Regions from separate parts of the Homo sapiens genome. Here region 2 is linked to region 1. The links are contacts of gene promoters, found by promoter capture Hi-C in human tissues and cell types (Jung and others, 2019). All regions are on one chromosome and are shown on one strand. The core of a region is centred on a gene start or on the middle of the fragment in contact, and the rest is flanking DNA. Distances in the headings are between cores, read along the strand shown.

The links. Contacts are between HindIII fragments. The study calls those that stand out against the background at their distance.
Region 2: a fragment that was not itself captured here is called in contact with the fragment with the promoter of SDR9C7 in region 1 in 2 of the 25 tissues and cell types used here (H1 embryonic stem cells and mesenchymal stem cells).

What each region holds. Positions count from the first base shown.
Region 1 is chr12:56,929,519-56,935,892 of GRCh38, forward strand. SDR9C7 (short chain dehydrogenase/reductase family 9C member 7) reads right to left here and starts at 4,890. Exons shown (of 4, transcript NM_148897.3): 1 at 4,443-4,890; 2 at 708-966; 3 at 1-35. The coding sequence starts at 4,743. The HindIII fragment of the contact is 4,226 bases long and covers 1,604-5,829 here.
Region 2 is chr12:56,889,469-56,895,567 of GRCh38, forward strand. No RefSeq gene overlaps it. Among named protein-coding and RNA genes, the nearest start is that of SDR9C7, 42 kb to the right of the region's middle. The HindIII fragment of the contact is 5,339 bases long and covers 1-4,815 here.

The DNA of each region.
Region 1 (6,374 bases), core at 3,640-6,139:
TGCAGACTTTCACCCCAAAGTAGTAGAGCTCACGCCTGGGAAAGAAGAGTTGCAGTCAGTCTGGGCCCCAAGATGACAATCATCACGGAGAGTCACCTCTGGATGGGCTGGTCTTTCAGGAACCTAGAGATGCTTCTCTCACCCCTGTACTTGGCCCTGGCATTGCCTTTGTGCAAATAAGCCCTTCCTTAGGGACTCAGCCCTTTCCAAAACTGGCCCAACAGTCTCTGGGCAATTTGCATTAGGCACAACCAGCGGGAAGAAGTCAATAGAGAATCTAGGCCAAAGCCTTGCCTCCCACCAGGTCCCTCCCATTAGCAACCCCTCACTCAACACCCACACGGTGAATGGTGTGGATATACACAAGGCCTGCACGCTCCTCTAAGGACCTCCCAGAGGGGACCTGTGCCTCCAGGCCTGTCTGTCTGTTTGGGGGACTCTCCCTCCTCTCACAGGCCCAAACAGGGTTTCACTCACCCTGGTGCCGCTCAAGGGAAGGCCCACCTGATGCCTTGTATTTCCACCCTACCTCTTCTCCTCATCCCTGCTCTTGGTCCTTGGAGAAAGCACCTTGAGGTCTAACCTTCCTTCTGCTATTGTGTTAGCTTCCTGTCTGCGGAATTCCCCTGCCCACATGCTGTCACTCCCAACCCTCTCTAATCTCTGGGATTTTCACCCAGAATTGTTCAGTACCAGGGCCCAGTTACCTTATGCTGTCAGAGAAGGCCTCAACGCCAAACTTGGAGACGCAGTAGCCACCACCAATGACAGCCACACGACCACCAGAGCTGGACATGTTGACAACCCTGCCCCGGGCTCTCTTGACCATGGGCAGCATGTGAAGGGTCACTTCGATCAGTCCCACCAGGTTCACATTAATCACCTTCACAAAGTCATCCTTGGTCAGCCATTCGTTGGGACCACTGGGCAGGCCCACACCAGCATTGTTCACCAGGGCCCAGAGGCCTGGGGGTGAGATGAACCACACAGAAATCATCAGTGGGCCTGGGAAAGAACCAAGTTCTGCTCCCCACCGGCTCAGTGCCCTCAAGGATGGTTGAGCAGGTGCACAAGACATAACTCGGTCAGGCTATAACATAAAAGGAAGGTGTGTCTTTTACTAACTCGTTTTCCCTGAAGGGACACTTTTTCCTGATTCACATAAAGTCTGCCGGCTAGCTGGCGCTCTGTACTAGCTACAATCGAGGTGTTAGGTGACAGCATTTCAGCTATCAGCTTTGGGATAAGAGTTTCATTTTCATACCAATGAATTAATGTTTAGATCCCTTCCCCATCATACTTCTCCCTCTCTATTCACTTAAGTATAACCAACTGCATTTCACATACTACCAAAATCAATCCATTCATTCATTCATCTTCACACATTTATTCATGCATTTATCTAGTCTGTGACAATTACAGGGTGAAGGAGGCCAGGTGCAGTGACTCACACTTGTAATCACAACCCTTTGAGAGGCTGAGGTGGGAGGATCACTTGAGGCCAGGAGTTTGAGACCAGCCTGAGCAACAGAGTAAGACCCCTGTCTCTACAAAAAAAGAAAAAAAATTAGTCAGGCGTGGTGGTATGTGCCTGTAGTTCTAGCTACTTGGGAGGCTGAGGTGGGAGAATCACTTGAGCCCGGGTTACAGGTTACCTTGTTCGAGGTTACAGTGAGCTATAATGGTGCCATTGCACTCCAGCCTGGGTGACAGAGTGAGACTCTGTCTCTAAAAATAAAATGAAATAAAACGATATAAAATAAAATAAAGTAAAATACAGGGCAAAGGAGACATAAAATGAACAACACAGCATCTTATCCCTCAAGGAACTCACAAGCCTAGAAGGAAATAATAATATTTATAAATAAATATATAAAATATTTAAATAAAATAATTATGGAAAATGTGATGAGGACTATCCTTGAGATATTTCAATTAGGTTGGTACAAATGGAAAGAAATAATGCTAAGTGTTGTCATTCAACTCTGCAGGGGCCCAGGGTTGAAGAGCTTCAGGTCCAGTCCTGGTTTTACCTCCAGCCTTGAACAAGTCACTTCCCTCTCTGGGCCTCAGGCTCTTCATCAGATTAGACTAAAACAGTTGTTTCCAGGCTGTATTTTGCAAGCCTTCTAGGGGGAGGAAAATGCAGGAGAAGCTCTCCTTTCATTTGTTTTACATATTGGGGTTCTACTGTAAACCCCTCTAAACACTCCTCAAGGACCCCTTCCAGCTCCTTCATGCAAGGATTCCCCAAGTCCTACTGCCTGGTGATTCGCACCACAGCCCCAGCCTCAGCAGCCCCAAGATACTCTGCAGGCGCATCCCACTGTCTCCTGAGGGCAGGTCTCAACACAAACATAAATCCTAGTCCACCCCTCCCTCTAGGGCTGGGGTCCCCACCCAAGCCATGCCCCTACCCAGTCTCCCTGCCTTTCTCCATTCAGGAGCAATGAGAAAGCATGAAAGAACTTCCTCTCCCATCCCCCTACCCACCCCAGTTCCCAGTGTTTCTTAGACCAGGATATTGCCAAGTGGCTTAGGCAAAATAATGGTCCCCCAAAGATGTCCCCATCCTCATTATCTCTGGAACCTGTGAATCTGCTGGATTACATGGGAAAGGGGAATTAAGGTTGCAGGTGGAATGGAGGTTGCTAATTAATTGTCCTTAAAGTTAGGGAGGAAGCTAACACGGGAAATTATCCTGGATTAACCTGGTGAGCCCAATATAATCACAAGTCCTAAGTGGAAAGAGGCAGAAACCGGAGAATCAGAGAGCTTGAGAAAAGTGTGAAAAAGACTGGGCCCAACCTTGCGGGCCTTGAAGATGGAGGTAGCAGGCCAGGAGCCAGGGGATGCCAGCTGCCTCTGGAAGCTGGAAAAGTCGATGAGACGGATTCTCCTCTACAGCCTCTAGAAGGAACACAGCTCTGCTGACTTTGATTTTAGATCAGTGAGGCCTATTTTAGACATTACTCCTCCACAACTACAAGATAATATGTTTGTATTGTCTTCAGACCCCACAGTTGTGTTATTTGTTACAATAGCAACAGGAAACTCACATGCTAAGTGAGGTATTAAGGCAAGTGGCTCAAGGCTGAATGTAGGGAACTGGCTGAGACAGCCTGCTGAAGACAGAGGCTCACTCTTGCTGAATTATTAATTAATTAGCTCACTCAAATCTATTTATTCAGTACCTTACTAGGTGCCAGACATTATTCTAGGTACTAAGGATGTACAGTAAATAAAAGGGACAAAAATCCTTGTCCCCAGGAAGCTTTATTCTAGCAGAGGAAACAGACAATAAATAAGTAAAATCTATTGTACATTGACTAGTGATAAGTGCTAAGGAGAAGAATCAAGCAGGGAGTTACTGTCTAGATCCCCCTGGCTCCAGGGCTCTGTTGCCCTGACCTGCGCATGGGCTCCAGACTAGTTCCTTTAGGAGGGAGGACTTCCTCTAGTCTGCTGCTTCTGCAACTCAGCCATCCTGTTCCTCCTGTTCCTGGGCCCACACCCTGTGTGCTGGAAGTGCATGAGGCAGGTCCCCACACAGTCCTGGGCCAGCCCCAGTCCACAGCTTCCTTTCCCAATAGGAGCAGCCACTGTGACATACATACTTGCCCTGAAGTCAAATCAACACCCACCATGATGTCAAGAAGAGACCAGATCTCTTTCTCCCCTGCCTGACATAGTCAAGGAGACAAACTGCACCCACTCATGGGATCCAGCCTCCTGTCTCATTCCCCCTCCCCCATCCTGATCCCAACAAGAAATGTGTTTGTATTTCCCCAGGAGCTGATGGTTAGGACTGCTGAAACATCAGAGAGGCACATCCTTTTTTTTTCTTTTTTTTCTTTTTGAGAGGGATTCTTGCTCTGTCACGAGGCTGGAGTGCAGTGGCGCAATCTTGGCTCACTGCAACCTCCGCCTCCCGGGTTCAAGTGATTCTCCTGCCTCAGCCTCCTGAGTAGCTGGGACTACAGGCACGTGCCACCACACCCAGGTAATTTTTATACTTTTTAGTAGAGATGGGGTTTCACCATGTTGGCCGGGATGGTCTCGATCTCTTGACCTCATGATCCTCCCACTTCGGCCTTCCAAAGTGCTGGGCTCATAGGCGTGAGCCACCACGCCCAGCCAGGCACGTCCATTTTTAGAGGTTTGGACACACAGAACACATCTTCCCCCCTCGCTTCCTATTGAGACCTCTTTCCCGTTTCTCTGAGTTTCCAGGACAGAAAACTTCCTTGGGAAATCACCCCTTCATGTGAACAGGCCAAACCATGCAGTGGCTTCCAATCAGATTGAGGCAGGGGCCTTTCCCTACATCACCCCTCCCACCCAATCTGGACATCAGGGTCTCTGATACTGTCAGATGCTTCGGGAGAGAGGAAGAGGAAGAAGGAGAAACCAAGAAAGCCAAAGAATGTAATTCGCCCCACCTTGTTCGCCCACTTTGTCCCTCACCCACTGGGCCGCCGCCTTGATGCTTTCGCTCTTGGTGACATCCAGTAGGGTGGTCTGCAGCCGATAGGAGGTATCCCGCTGAAGTTTCTGGGATCCCTCCTCAGTGAAGCAAGCAGCCAGCACCTGCATGCCCCGATCAACCAGCTGTTTGGCCAGCAGGTTCCCGAAGCCAGAGTCACAGCCTGTGATGAAGACGTACTTCTCTGAGAGGTTGCCAACCAGATTGCAGTTCTTGAACCAGCGATACATAAATGAGAGGTCTGTGAGGGCCGCCATAGGGCAAGGGGAATGTGATGGCCAAGAGGGACTGGGCTCAGGAGACAGCAGGGAAGAAGCTGGTCCTCTGAGCCCTAGCAGGCAGTCTGCAGGAAACCACCTGGAAGAAGAACTCTCCTTCCTCCCACAGCTTGCAACAAATCTAGGTCCCTGGGTGAGCCACGCTGTAATTTTTATAGGTGGATGCATCACCACAGCAATTAGCCCAGATGCAAGAAATTCAAGTCCAACCTGAAGCCTTGTCACCTCTGACAGCCCTGGTAGCTGCCTCCCTCTCTCCCCCTGCCCTGATGGGTAAAGCTGCCAAGAATTGGAAATAATCCACTTGTAATGTTGGTGATGAGTGGTGGCTCACCCAGGCGGTGTAAGGCAGGCAAATGAAAGATGAGGACTCACCCCAGACAGCTCCCCTAGAAATCCTGTCCCCACCCTGCCCCCAACCCAGCCTGGGGATTTTGGTCTCCAGGGATCAAAATCATTTGTCGTGAGTGCAGGTATGTAAATAAGTTTATTTTCAGGGAAAATACTCAAGACAAATTTATTAATGTAAAACAAACAACATTGGTTCTGTACCTTCCAAACCCCAAGAGAAACAAGTCGCAGGTCATCAGCTCTCTGGAATTCTTAGGTAAGTCTCCATCATGAGAGAGGATGAAAAGCAATGGATTTCTCCTAGGGTGGATGTACCTCCATTGTCCTGAGGCTAGAGGCAGCAGGGCCCTCCTATAGGGGAGGCTGGCATGTGAAGCTTAGCCACCAGAAAGCAGAAAGACCTGGGGGACTCAGGCCTGACACCCTGTGGGGGTCATACTCAGGTCACCAGTAAGCAGCCCTGGGCAAGATGATGAGGAGGGATCATGAGTTCACTGGGCAGCTGAGGGAATTGTCTGGGCAGAGGCCTTGACTGTAAGAGGGGATGAGATATAGGAGGAGCAGAGAACTGGGGCCAGAGACATAGAAAATTCTCAGGGTCGGGACTTGGAGGAGAAACAGAGATTCTAGGCAATTTAGCAAATAATTTACAGAAAGCTAAGAGGTAAGGTGGTAAAGGAAAGGAAATAAGGAAACCAGAGGTGTGAGTAGTGAGGGGCCACACCCAGAATTGCATAAGATGCAGGGAATGATGCTGGAGCCTCTGTGGTTCTTTGGATCAACATCTAGGGTCACCATTCCTTGGGATGAGCCTGGTCCTAGCTCACACCTTCATGGCTTAGCGAGTCTGACACAGAAATGGGACCACAAAGTTCTCTAGTGTGAAGGGACAAAGGATGTATCTCTGTGATCCACCATTTGCCAAGTCTGACCAGCGTGGAATCACATAAAGCAGGTGTCACCCTGGGAAAGCCCCGCAGGGTTTGGCCGTTCCTTAACAAAGTAGGGGAGGGGGCCAGATTATGAACCCACCCCCAAAGAGCAGACCTAAAGCTTATAGGGGATGGAGGTGGGAAATGGTAGAAAGCAAACCACACCTACTTCATAACCAACCTGAGGCAGAGCACCTCCTATGCGGGATCTGGGAACAATCTCCCAGTCTCTGTCTGCCTCCTGGGTGAATGAACAGAGAAGTCTTGGCTGAAACAGGTCAGACCATGTCACTCAAGACTGAGCAGGTCCGGGGCATTGGGTATCCC
Region 2 (6,099 bases), core at 896-3,395, 43 kb before region 1:
GGAGAACTTCCCCAACCTAGCAAGGCAGGCCAACATTCAAATTCAGGAAATACAGAGAACACCACAAAGATACTCCTTGAGAAGAGCAACCCCAAGACACATAATTGTAAGATTCACCAAGGTTGAAATGAAGGAAAAAACGTTAAGGGCAGCCAGAGAGAAAGGTTGGGTTACCCACAAAGGGAAGCCCATCAGACTAACAGCAGATCTCTCCACAGAAACTCTACAAGCCAGAAGAGAGCGGGGACCAATATTCAACATTCTTAAAGAAAAGAATTTTCAACCCAGAATTTCATATCCAGCCAAACTAAGCTTCATAAGTGAAGGAGAAATAAAATCCTTTACAGACAAGCAAATGCTGAGAGATTTTGTCACCACCAGGCCTGCCTTACAAGAGCTCCTGAAGGAAGCACTAAACATGGAAAGGAACAACTGGTACCAGCCACTGCAAAAACATGCCAAATTGTAAAGGCCATCAATGCTAGGAAGAAACTGCATCAACTAATGGGCATAATAACCAGCTAACATCATAATGACATGATCAAATTCACACATAACAATATTAACCTTAAATGTAAATGGGCTAAAAGCCCCAATTAAAAGACACAGACAGGAGATTGGATTAAAAAATCAAGACTCATCAGTTTGCTGTATTCAGGAGATCCATCTCATGTGCAGAGACACACATGGGCTCAAAATAGAGGGATGGAGGAAGATCTACCAAGCAAACGAAAAGCAAAAAAAAAAAAAAAAAAACCAAAAAAAAAACAGGGGTTGCAATCCTAGTCTCTGATAAAACAGACTTTAAACCAACAAAGATCAAAAGAGACAAAGAAGGCCCTTACATAATGGTAAAGGGATCAATTCAACAAGAAGAGCTAACTATCCTAAATATATATGCACCCAATACAGGAGCACCCAGATTCATAAAGCAAGTCCTTAGAGACCTAAAAAGAGACTTAGACTCCAACACAATAATAACGGGAGACTTTAACACCCCACTGTCAAGATTAGACAGATCAACGAGACAGAAGGTTAACAAGGATATCCATGACTTGAACTCAGCTCTGCACCAAGCTGACCTAATAGACGTCTACAGAACTCTCCACCCCAAATCAACAGAATATACATTCCTCTCAGCACCACATCACACGTATTCCAAAATTGACAACATAGTCGGAAGCAAAGCACTCCTCGGCAAATGTAAAAGAACAGAAATCACAACAAACTGTCCCTCAGACCACAGTGCAATCAAATTAGAACTCAGGATTAAGAAACTTACTCAAAACCACTCAACTACATGGAAACTGAACAACCTGCTCCTGAATGACTACTGGCTAAAAAACGAAATGAAGGCAGAAATAAAGATGGTCTTTGAAACTGATGAGAACAAAAACACAATGTACCAGAATCTTTGGGACACATTTAAAGCAGTATGTAGAGGGAAATTTATAGCACAAAATGCCCACAAGAGAAAGCAGGAAAGATCTAAAATCAACATCCTAACATCACAATCAAAAGAACTAGACAAGCAAGAGCAAACAAATGGAAAAGCTTGCAGAAGGCAGGAAATAACTAAGAGCAGAGCAGAACTGAAGGAGATAGAGACACAAAAACCCTTCAAAAAATCAATGAATCTAGGAGCTGGTTTTTTGAAAAGATCAACAAAATTGATAGACCGCTAGCAAGACTAATAAAGAAGAAAAGAGAGAAGAATCAAATAGACACAATAAAAATGAGAAAGGGGATATCAGCACTGATCCCACAGAAACACAAACTACCATCAGAGAATACTATAAACACCTCTACACAAATAAACTACAAAATCTAGAAGAAACGGATACATTCCAGGACACACATACCCTCCCAGACTAAACCAGGAAGAACTTGAATCCCTGAATAGACCAATAACAGACTCTGAAATTGAGGCAATAATTAACAGCCTATCAACCAAAAAAAAGTCCAGGACCAGATGGATTCACAGCCGAATTCTACCAGAGGAAGAAAGAGGAACTGGTACCATTCCTTATAAACCTATTCCAATCAATAGAAAAAGAGGTAATTCTCCCTAACTCATTTTATGAGGCCAGCATCATCCTGATACCAAAGCCTGGCAGAGACACAACAAAAAAAGAGAATTTTAGACCAATATCCCTGATGAACATTGATGTGAAAATCCTCAATAAAATACTGGCAAACCAAATCTAGCAGCACATCAAAAAGCTTATCCAACAAGACCAATTTGGCTTTATCCCTGAGATGCAAGTCTGGTTCAACATATGCAAATCAACAAACATAATCCATCACACAAACAGAACCAAACACAAAACCACATGATTATCTCAATAGATGCAGAAAAGGCCTTTGACAAAATTCAACAGCCCTTCATGCTAAAAACTCAATAAACAAGGTATTGATGGGATGTATTTCAAAATAATAAGAACTATTTATGACAAACCCACAGCCAATATCATACTGAATGGGCAAAAACTGGAAGCATTCCCTCTGAAAACTGGCACAAGGCAGGGACGCCCTCTCTCACCATTCCTTTTCAACACAGTGTTGGAAGTTCTGGCCAGGGCAATCAGGCAACAGAAAGAAATAAAGGGCATTCACCTAGGAAAAGAGGAAGTCAAATTGTCCCTGTTTGCAGACGACATGATTGTATATTTAGAAAAACCCATCGTCTCAGCCCAAAATCTCCTCAAGCTGATAAGCAAATTCAGCAAAGTCTCAGGATACAAAATCAATGTGCAAAAATAACAAGCATTCCTATATACCAATAACAGACAAACTGAGAGCCAAATCATAAGTGAACTCCCATTCACAATTGCTACAAAGGATTAAAATACCTAGGAATCCAACTTACAAGGGATGTGAAGGACCTCTTCAAGGAGAACTACAAACCACGGCTCAATGAAATAAAAGAGGATACAAACAAATGGAAGAACATTCCATGGTCATGAATAGGAAAAGTCAATATCATGACAATGGCCATACTGCCTAGGGTAATTTATAGATTCAATGCCATCCCCATCAAGCTACCAATGACTTTCTTCACAGAATTGGAAAAAACTACTTTAAAGTTCATATGGAACCAAAAAAGAGCCCACATTGCCAAGACAATCCTAAGCCAAAAGAACAAAGCTGGAGGCATCATGCTACCTGACTTCAAACTATACTACAAGGCTACAGTAACCAAAACAGCATGGTACTGGTACCAAAACAGACATATAGACCAATGGAGCAGAACAGAGCCCTTAGAAATAACACCACACATCTAAAACCATCTGATCTTTGACAAACCTGACAAAAACAAGAAATGGGGAAAGGATTCCCTATTTAATAAATGGTGCTGGGAAAACTGGCTAGCCATATGTAGAAAGCTGAAACTGGATCCCTTCCTTACACCTTATACAAAAATTAATTCAAGATGGATTAAAGACTTCAACGTTAGACCTAAAACCATAAAAACCCTAGAAGAAAACCTAGGCTATACTATTCAGTACATAGGCATGGGCAAGGACTCCATGACTAAAACACCAAAAGCAATGGCAACAAAAGCCAAAATTGACCAATGGTATCTAATTAAACTAAAGAGCTTCTGCACAGCAAAATAAACTATCATCAGTGTGAACAGGCAACCTACAGAATGGGAGAAAATTTTTGCAATCTATCCATTAGACAAAGGGCTAATATCCAGAATCTACAAAGAACTTAAACAAATTTACAAGAAAAAATCAAACAACCCCATCAAAAAGTGGGCAAAGGATATGAACAGACACTTCTCAAAAGAAGACATTTATGCAGTGAAGAGACACATGAAAAAATGCTTATCTTCACTGGCCATCAGAGAAATGCAAATCAAAACCACAATGAGATACCATCTCACACCAGTTAGAATGGCGATCATTAAAAAGTCAGGAAACAACAGGTGCTGGAGAGGATGTGGAGAAATAGGAACACTTTTACACTGTTGGTGGGACTGTAAACTAGTTCGACTGTTGTGGAAGACAGTGGCAATTCCTCAAGGATCTAGAACTAGAAATACCGTTTGACCCAGCCATCCCATTACTGGGTATATACCCAAAGGACTATAAATCATGCTACTATAAAGACACATGCACATGTATGTTTATTGCGGCACTATTCACAACAGCAAAGACTTGGAACCAACCCAAATGTCCATCAGTGATTGACTGCATTAAGAAAATGTGGCACATATAGACCATGGAATACTATACAGCCATAAAAAAGGATGAGTTCATGTCCTTTGTAGGGACATGGATGAAGCTGGAAACCATCATTCTCAGCAAACTATCGCAAGGATAGAAAACCAAACACCGCATGTTCTCATTCATAAGTGGGAATTGAACAATGAGAACACTTGGACACAGGATGGGGAACATCACACACTGGGGTCTATCGTGGGGTAGGGGGAGGGGGAGGGATACCATTAGGGGAGATACCTAATGTAAATGACGAGTTAATGGGTGCAGCACACCAACATGGCACATGTATACATATGTAACAAACCTGCACATTGTGCACATGTACCCTAGAACTTAAAGTACAATAAAAAAAAAAGAGTCAAAGTGAACAATATGGCAGCTCATATAGAAATCATGCTAGAATAAGAGCTTCTCAATCCTAATATGATTTAATTACTAAGTCTTGGTAGCATATGCATTGATGTATTTTTTGTCAGGTTTAAATTAAATGTTCACTATCAAAAAAAAGAAATTGATAATATTTGCTAAATTGTATAAATAAAATAAAATAGATTAAACAAATTATGAAAAAATATGTTTTTAGTTGTAAGTTTAACAAATCAAACATTAATTTTAATAATCAAAGTATCCCCAGAAAAGATTTTCCTACTCATAAATGTCCTGCTCAAGAACACACACATACATACATGCACACACTCAAAGCCTCACTTAACACCTATAATTACAAAATGGGCTTCCAGTCAGGGCGATTCTAGGCACTGATATAATTCCCATGGAAAACAAGGCATTTAAATTATTCAACAGAAAAATTAACAAAAGACTCAAATACTGACTTGGCTAAAAAGAAAAACATCAATAAACATATGAAAAGAAATTTTACCTCCCCAGCAATTAAAGAAATGCCAAGTAAAACAAAAATTACTTTAAAATAACCAAATGTCTTGTTTGCTTGTTTCTGTTATAAATAAGTGTCTAAGGCTGGCAAGAACTCAAGGACCTGGGTATTCAGACACTGATTGAGCGTTCTGAAGGTAACTTGGTAGCTCGTAAAATAATCTTAAAAACCACATAAAATATGCACACCCATTGGATCAGCATTTTTATTTTCAAAATTTTACTATATGAAAGGTAACAATAAAATAACCACTTAAACATTTAACTATCTTGCAGTGCTGTGAATGATCGCTAAATATTGGAAACAATCCAGCCAGCCAAGAATAGATAAGATGTGGCACAGTCATACAATAAAAACACTGTGATGTAAATACGATATAAAATATATTTAGCACTTAAATGTGTATTAAGAGAAAAAAGTATCATATGAACACTATGACACAGTATTTATTTATTTGTTTAATTAAAAAAATTTTTTGAGACAATCTTGCTCTGTCACCCAGGCAAGATCACAGTGTGTATAGTGGCAAGATCACAGCTCACAGCAGCCTTGACCTCCTGTGCTCAAACAATCCTCCCACCTCAGCCTCCTGAGTAGCTGAGACCACAGAGATTTGCCACCATGCCTGGCTAATTTTTTTTTTGTACTTTTTTTTTTTTTTTGTAGAGACGAGGTTTTGCCATGTTGCCCAGGCTGGTCTCAAACTCCTGGGCTCAAGTGATCCTCCCACCTTGGCCTCCTCCCAGAGTGCTTGGATTACAGGCATGAGCCACTGCACTCAGCCCTGTGATCCATTTTTAAACCATAGACATGCATCAAAAAAAGTCTGTATGTATGGTCACAAACATATTAATACTGGTTGTCTCTGAGTGGTAGAGATATTATCTCTACTAACTATATCTATTAGTACTAGTACTATACTATTATCTCTACTAATAATAATGAGACATATATGCTCATTATTATTTCCTC